3 separate regions of the Homo sapiens genome follow, and regions 1 and 3 are each linked to region 2. Evidence: promoter capture Hi-C in 16 types of primary human blood cells and fetal thymus (Javierre and others, 2016). All regions are on one chromosome and are shown on one strand. The core of a region is centred on a gene start or on the middle of the fragment in contact, and the rest is flanking DNA. Distances in the headings are between cores, read along the strand shown. Region 1 has its middle 37 kb from the start of ONECUT1. Region 2 holds the start of GNB5 (G protein subunit beta 5). Region 3 has its middle 37 kb from the start of ATOSA.

The links. Contacts are between HindIII fragments. The CHiCAGO score rates a contact against its expected background, and 5 or more counts as called.
Region 1: a contact is called between a fragment that was not itself captured here and the fragment with the promoter of GNB5 in region 2, in 4 of 17 cell types (activated CD4 T cells, total B cells, naive B cells and 1 more). The highest score is 7.7, in activated CD4 T cells.
Region 3: a contact is called between a fragment that was not itself captured here and the fragment with the promoter of GNB5 in region 2, in 7 of 17 cell types (naive B cells, activated CD4 T cells, non-activated CD4 T cells and 4 more). The highest score is 8.2, in naive B cells.

Annotation. Positions count from the first base shown.
Region 1 is chr15:52,751,871-52,754,570 of GRCh38, forward strand. No RefSeq gene overlaps it. Among named protein-coding and RNA genes, the nearest start is that of ONECUT1, 37 kb to the right of the region's middle. The HindIII fragment of the contact is 1,805 bases long and covers 366-2,170 here.
Region 2 is chr15:52,189,999-52,192,698 of GRCh38, forward strand. GNB5 (G protein subunit beta 5) reads right to left here and starts at 1,394. Exons shown (of 13, transcript NM_016194.4): 1 at 1,324-1,394. It overlaps MYO5C (myosin VC), which reads right to left. Exons shown (of 41, transcript NM_018728.4): 41 at 2,324-2,700. All of the region lies in intron 2 of CERNA1 (competing endogenous lncRNA 1 for miR-4707-5p and miR-4767), which reads left to right. RefSeq lists an enhancer at 1,492-1,991. The HindIII fragment of the contact is 7,593 bases long and covers 1-2,700 here.
Region 3 is chr15:52,714,741-52,717,440 of GRCh38, forward strand. No RefSeq gene overlaps it. Among named protein-coding and RNA genes, the nearest start is that of ATOSA, 37 kb to the left of the region's middle. The HindIII fragment of the contact is 7,050 bases long and covers 1-2,700 here.

The sequences.
Region 1 (2,700 bases), core at 18-2,517, 560 kb after region 2:
TGGTTAAAAAAAAAAAAAAAAAAAAGAAGTAGCAAAGTATCTCACAAATGCCGGTGCTTTGAAATATTAAAAAAGTCTCAAATTCTTTGGAATTTCAGGTCTTACCTGCAAAGTAATCTTTTCTAAAAAAAAATTAATAAATTAAAGGAAGAACACGAACAATGCCTTTCTTCTGTCTAAATGACAAAAAGGACTATCTTGAAACACTCACTTTGGCATGTACAAGTTTCTGAGGGGGACCTGGCAGTGTTTACAGCACACATTGAAGTACCTACTAAGAAAAAGCTAAAGATACACCCTGCAGTTAAGAGAAGCTCTTGCCTTCAGCTTATCTTAGCATCGAGAACAAAAAGATTGTAACATAAAGCTTTGGCCATTTTGATTCTACTATATACATTTTAAAAACTACACAGTCATAAATTAAAGCAGTGATTAAATAAGCTCATATAAAATGTAATTAAATTAAAAAAAATCACAGCACATTATAGAGAAAAATAGGAACCAGCTTCACAGAAAAGAGATTTTATATATATATATTTTTTTACCCTGTGGAAACAAATTTTCTACGGAACACAAAAACTTCATAAGTAACCATCAAAATGAAAATCATTTCGTATTCCATTCTTGCATTTTTACACAACCCTTAACTCACCCGGGGAATATTTCCAGAAACTAAGTCTTCCTTGAGCAATAGAGCAGTTCTGCCAAGAAAATAAACCCCAAATCAAAGAGGGGGGGGGGACATCCCAAACATACAAACTACAAAATAAATAAGAATTATAAAGTTTTTTTTAAAGTAACCTTAACAATTATCAAACTAGTAAGTTCTGCCTTATCACATAGACTCTCTATACAACATAACCCTAAAACTTTATTACTATGAGGTATTTGGAGGAATTGGTAAAAGTTATGCACGGCCTGCCTGGTGGAGGGACAGGTGAAGTCAGGTGGGGGGAACTTGAGAGGGAACAAGGAGGAGGAGCTTTGGTTTATCAGCAAGAAATTGGGAAAAAAAAAAGTCATCCTTTGGTATCAAAGAAAGTTTCATTGCATGGTTGCACGGAAAAAGCACCACGGTGAATAATTATTCCTTTTTTTTTCATTAGTGGCCTTTCTAAGAGGCTGAGGTATTCAAAGAGTATAAGGTGAAAGAGGTCAACAGCGGTTTAACACTTTGGTTCAAGCAAGGCACTCGTCCTAGGAGTTTACAAAGTTTGCAACATGTTTGCCTAGAGATTTACAAGTAGAACTAGCAGTAATAAGAGTAGTATTTCCTAATGTTGTTGTTGTCATTATTGTATCATTATTAAGAATGAAGACAAGTTTACACACTGAGTGAAGAGTTAGGAAGGGGGAGGGGTGGGGGAAGGGAAGGGGCGGAGTTCCCTCTGCAGACTGAGACCGTGCATGAAAATATCTTTGGTATTCTTTGGTATCATCAATGTGATTAAAATCACCAATGGAAATTGAGTGAGGTAGCGTCTTTGGTTCACACTATAAATAGTAGATCTTTACACTTTTTTTTCTTTTTTTCTTTTTCTTTTTTTTTTTTACACGTGGAAGTCGCTATTTCTTACCTTCTGCTTCTTTGTCCTTACTATTTAGGAAATAGTTACCAAATGTACTGTAAAGCTAACCACACCACAGTAATAACCCAGAAGGCCAAACATGTCTCAAAACAGCCTCTGGTGTTTGAATGCACCCTAAACAACTAGATAGAAAAAGAAGTGCTTTCTCTTTGTTTGCTAAATGCATAGTTTTCATCCTTTATGTACAAAGAAGGGAGGACCTTTCTTAGGGAATATGCCTTTATAGCTCATGTGAAAATGTCCTAGGACTCTTTGGTATAGCAAAGTTTGCATTTAACCTGCAACCACGGTCATTCACCTGGGGTAGCAATGGGAGTGGAATGAATCCAAAAGTAGCGTAGTGCTTTTATATTTTCCTGGAAAAATAATTTCGCTTTTTTGAGGGGGCACAGTGAGTGACATGTTCATTTAGGACTTCTGGATTTCCCACACATTTTCTTTGGTCTTTGGAGTCTATTCCAGCTGCATCCAGGGACTGGAATACTCAATTCCTGACATCCAGAGCTCTTTTACCTGAACATTTACTGAAGTCTGGGGTTTTGGGGTGTCCAGACGTCACAACTCCCTGCCCTCTACAGGAAAGCTTCCAGTGATGAGAGGACCTGAATGTCTTATGGCCAGAAACAGACTAACTTCCATTCTACCAAAAAAAAAAAAAAAAAAAAAAAAAAAAAAAAAAAAAAAAAAAAGGATTACTTTAAGTGCAGTTTTGGAATAAACACATGTACAAATAAAAGAGTAAGATAGATACCTTTTTCTGGTGAATTTTGCAAAAGAATTGAGAAATGATGGGTGAACAAATGGCACATGACCTGCTCTGTGGAATGTAGATTAAAAAACTCAAGCCAGAAATTAATGTTACACTAAATAGGAATGGAAGCATTGTGTTTTTTTTCTACATGCCAGTTCAGGAGCAAGTAAAGAATCAGTCATACATGATGTAATAAGTGTATTGCTTGTGAGAAGCTGAGTTTGTCCATCACGATTTCTAAAAAGCAAAGGGTGTGAGTATGCTCAAACAGTCGAGTAAAAAAATTGCTTTTCAGGCTCTGATTTGTGCATCTGTTTATGAGAAAATATATCTCTAAGCCCTGAAATTGCATAATGGGTG
Region 2 (2,700 bases), core at 144-2,643:
GGAGTCAGTGGCAATGGTTGCAAATCCTTGTAAATAAACTTAAAAAACACTGAAATATATGTTTTAAAATGATGGGTTTTAAAACATGAAACAAAACGTGGACATCATATCTCAATAAATTTTTTTTTTTTTTTTTTTAGACAGAGTCTTGCTCTGTCGCCCAGGTTGGAGTGCAGTGGCGCAATCTCGGCTCACTGTAAGCTCCGCCTCCCAGGTTCATGCCATTCTCCTGCCTCAGCCTCCCAAATATCTGGGAATACAGGCGCCCGCCACCTCACCCGGCTAATTTCTTGTATTTTTAGTAGAGATGGGGTTTCACCGTGTTAACCAGGATGCTCTCAATCTCCTGACCTCATGATCTGCCCGCCTCAGCCTCCCAAAGTGCTGGGATTACAGGCATGAGCCACCGCGCCCAGCCCAAAGATTATTTTTAAAATGGACAAAAGGCTTGTGTAGTCACTTCACAAATGAGGATACTTATATGGTCAATAAACATATAAAAAGGTGCTCATTATCATTAGTCATCATAGAAATACAAAGTAAAACTACGATGTGATACAACTACTTAGCCATCAGAAAACCTAAAAAGCCTGACAACACAAAGTGTGGGCAAGGATGCAGAGACTGGAACTGCCTTTCTCTGCTAGTGGGAGTATAAGTCGGTATAACCACTGTAGAAAACTGGTTGGTAGGAGCTACTAAAGTGAAACGGATATAGTCTATGACCAGGCAATTCTACTCGTGCATACATACACCACAGAAAATAATGCTTATTTCCTTAAAAAAAAAAAAAAAAAAAAAAAAAAAAAAAAAAAAAAAACATAAATGTCATAGCAGCTATTCATAGAAGGCCTAAACTTGAAAGACCCAAATGTTCACCAGTCACAGACGAAACTGTGAAATGAGCATAGAATAAAAAATAACTGATACACACAATGTGGATGTATCTCAGACTTACAACTAAAAACCTCTTTCTAACCCCATAAGCTGTACTCAGAGGCTTATGTTGCCATGTGTCACCTGGATCAAATTTTAAAACTGACTTAGTGATTTTAAGTATGCTTAATCTCTTTCCTGATGCCAATATTAATGTAAAAAATATTGAAATATTTCAATTTGAAATATTTGAAATTTACTATTTCAAAATAAATTCATGTGTATTGTAGAAAAATTAGATTCTACGGATTAACAACAACAAAACCCCTCACCCATGCTCCCACCGCACAGAAAGACCTGCTAACACTGTGCCCTGTACTCATCTGGATGCTTTTCTGAGCATTTCAAAAGCTGGAGTATTTTAACCGAATGTCAGCATGCACATACCTTCCAGAGTCAGCACTGGGAGCCACAGAGCAGATGGTGAGAGGTGAGGACCAGCGCGCAGCTTGAGGTGTGAAGCACGTCTCCCACTGGCTAATCTCCTTATCTTCTCTGGAGTGCTGCTCAGCTTGCTTCCTTCCTCCACAGCACTTCCATGCTCCCTGCTGGGCACGCACTGCCATCTGCATCCCTCACTCACCCCTGGAACCTGCCCAGCCCCTCTGTGGAGGGAGGCCTTGGCAGGTTTGACCTCTGTGTCTGCGCCCACTCACTGAGCAGCCCTCACATTCACCTGGGCCACATGTTCTTAACATTTCTCTATTTTGGTCTCCTTGCCACTGTCAGCTTTGTAGAACTGATCAAGACTGTGGGATGAGTGCCTCCCTTTCCCCATTTTTCCACACATAAACTCCTCAGCCTCCACAGGTCTCCCTGTCCCCAAACATGACCTACTTTTTCCCATGGTTGACTCCCCACCACACACACACAGTCCTCCAACGGGACTTTGCTCCTTCAGTTCTCTTCCCACCTCATCAGCAGTAGGATGAAGGCAGGGATGAGGAGGATGTGGCACCTGCCCTCTGGGGCTCACAGGCCTACAGAGGAAATGGGCAGCATTTCTGGCTTCCAGTCCAGGGTAAGTGCTATAAAACAGGCATAAATCCTGAGTTATGGAAGCCGAAAACCAACAGTGATGGCTCCTCATGGTGTGGGGAAGGTCTAGAAAGGGCATGGAGGCCGCAGCTCAGGATCAGAAACCCTGCCAATTCTCTGCCAAGTAGCCCCTCATTCTGACAGTGTGGAAGCGCCCTGGAGACACAGCCTAAGCCAGCACTTATGACATATTTACTTCTTCTCTAAACATTTTAATATACTTTAAATGAGATATTATGAATCTATAAAGATTCTAGCATCTTTCAGTATGACCGTAAAGAAAGGCATACAACTTGTACACTTAAGAGACATGTCATCTCCTCGCAATGAAAGAATCTGACCCAATTCATTTGGTAATTAATTTTATTGATTAAAGTATTACAAAGTTCTACTTTTCATTTTTTCATGTACAATGTATTGAAATGAACTAAACTCAATCACTTATAATATAAAAAGACATTATTATGTATTAGCAGGGTGATGCTTCATAATCATGTATTATTCCTACCTCTAAGACACCAGTCTGTATTATAGAATCACAGCTGTCACCTGTGACTGTCAGAAACAGAAGGTGCAATTGGGATTCTTAGGTTGGTGACAGAATAGCACTGGATCCACAGGCCAGAGACTAGGAGTGCTTATCAAATGAGGTTTTAGGCTCTGAAAGGAAGGAATGAGAAGGTGTGCCGGGACAAGGAATAGCCAGTTCCCATAAAACTTGGGAAA
Region 3 (2,700 bases), core at 67-2,566, 520 kb after region 2:
CCTCCCAGGTTAAAATGATTCTCCTGCCTCAGCCTCCCAAGTACCTGGGATTACAGGCGTGCACCACCACACCTAGCTAATTTTTATTTTTATTTTTTTTTGTAGAGATGGGGGTTTCACCATGTTGGCCAGGCTGGTCTCGAACTCCTGACCTCAAGTGATCCACCTACCTTGGCTTCCCAAAGTGCTGGGATTACAGGTGTGAGCCACTTCACCTGGGCTGAATAAGCATTTCTAAGCAAAAGTGTTCTTATATTTCATACATTGGGAGTGGTTGCCAGCTATCAGGGACTACAGGTGCATGCAGAGCCCAGCTTTCTGCGTTTGAATGAAAAATTCTTAGACTCCTACACAAAATGTAGCATCACAGAGAGAGCTGACCCTGGCTCCAAGACCCTGGCACCGTGCCCATAGCCCACTTCCTCTTCTTCCCTGGACACCATGTAGCACCATGAAGGCCTCTCTCGTATGTGGGAGGTGAACTCCTACATCCAAACTGCATAACCACATCCCCTTCAAACAGCCACCCCAGGCTACCCTTTAGACCTAAGGACTTGCAACATTCATTGCCAGAAGGCTGGACCCCAGGAAAGAGCCTGCATAGCCTCTGGAAGCAGGCTCAGGACTGTTTGGACAAGGAATTACAGAGTCCAAACAATGATGTTCCAGTCATGGTCCAGAAATGGGTGCTTAGACTAGAAGTGGCATGTCCCTTAGCTCTGCAGTATCCTCGCTTTGCCAAGAGAGGCAATGCCAGAGGATGGCCAGGACAGGGGCTCCTCTTGCCTGGGTCTAAGAAGGGGACGGCCTCCTGCAAAAGTCCCAGTGAATGGTGACAGGGCTGTGACGAAAGAAGGAAAAGGGGTCAGCAATAGGGAAGGTCACATAGGGACTTCATGGTACTTAGAAACTACCAAGCCATGGGAGAACAAAAAAGGAAGGAGGTAACAGAAGACACCAAACTTTCAATCCTGGGTTGTCGGTGGGGCTGGGGGAAATCCTCTAACAGGAAAATCTTCTAAGGTTTCTGTTAGCATTACGATATTTCCCTGACTGAGCAACACTCTTTTCCAAATAGTTTTAAACAGAATTGTTACCCATTCATGTGTTTTCACAATAGTGCATATGTTTAAGCATTTTCTTCATGCATGAAATATAAGTACATTTTTGCTTAGAAATGCTTATTCAGGCCAGGTGTCATGGCTCACACCTGTAATCCCAGCTTTTTAGGAGGCTGAGGCCAGAGGATATTTTGAGGCCAGGAGTTCGAGACCAGCCTGAGCAACATAATGAGACTCCATTTCTAAAATAAATAAATAAAAATAAAAGAGAAGGAAATGTTTATTTACAGCAATATCATACAGCAACATACTTTAGGAAAATGTGTGATTTCTATTTAAATATGTTGTCACCTTAAGCCATACAAATGAACTTGATTCTGTAGCCTTTATGGCTAAGAATTCAGTCAGCTGCAAAATAGGGCTATTGAAACTGCTTCATCACTAATTTTTATTTTTCATTTTATATTATTTTTTGAAACAGTCTCACTCTGTCGCCCAGGCTGGAGTGCAGTGGCATGATCTCAGCTCACCGTAACCTCCACCTCCCAGGTTTAAGCGAGTCTCATGCCTCAGCCTCCTGAGCAGCTGGGATTACAGGGGCACACCACCATGTCCACCTAACTTTTGTATTTTTAGTAGAGTTGGGGTTTCCCCATGTTGGCCAGGCTGGTCTCAAACTCCTGACCCCAAGGGATCCACCTGCCTCAGCCTACCAAAGTGCAGGGATTATAGGCGTGAGCCACTGTGCCTGGTCAATCACTAATTTTTAAAGTCCACTTTTAGAGTATAACGGGGTGAGATTTTACTAAGCCTGAGCCCTCAAAAGTATAAGATATGGCTTTTTTTTTATTACAGGCTAATCCAGCTGGATCATAGGAAAGAAATATGTAGATGGACTATAATTATTGTGGTTGGAACATAGCCGTGACAGCTAGCCAACAATCCAGTCAGAAAAACATGGTTTTGTTGTTTGTTTGTTTCATTGCTTTTGTGAGACATCAGTTTGTGCCAGATAACTCTGAGAATGTAATTGAAATCTAGAGTTATTGTTCTAAACTCACTTATGAGAAATAAAAACATGTCTTTCTTTTAAAGTAATCCATTAAATGCTTACTTGAAAGATAAAAACATTTATTTAGTCTTATGAAAGTTTCCATTAATAAATAATAAATTGCAGAATTCCCAAGATGGTTTTTCCTTAGTAGAGATTTTTAAAATGTTTCACTCTTTCTCTTAATATTGATAACTACGCCAGGTAAACCACACAGAATTAAGTGCATCTTGGGTTAAAGGCCCTTAGAGCATTCCAGATGTCTCAGGTATCCACAATGTATCCCAAATCAGAGTCCAAGAGACATTGAAAAGGACTGAAGCAGGACATAACCATGGGTGACAAGATCTTCATCTCCAACTTTATGTGCTTTGCAGTTCACAGAATGCATTTGGTAAACCCAAGGTCTCAAACAGGGGTGGTAAAAGCTAGGGGTAGAGGTGGGCCCAATATGGCTACTAAGGAAATGTATGGCCAGGCACAGTGGCTCACGCCTGTAATTCCAGGACTTTGGGAGGCCAAGGCGGGTGGATCACTTGAGGTTAGGAGTTCAAGACCAGCCTGGCCAACATGGTAAAACCCCATCTC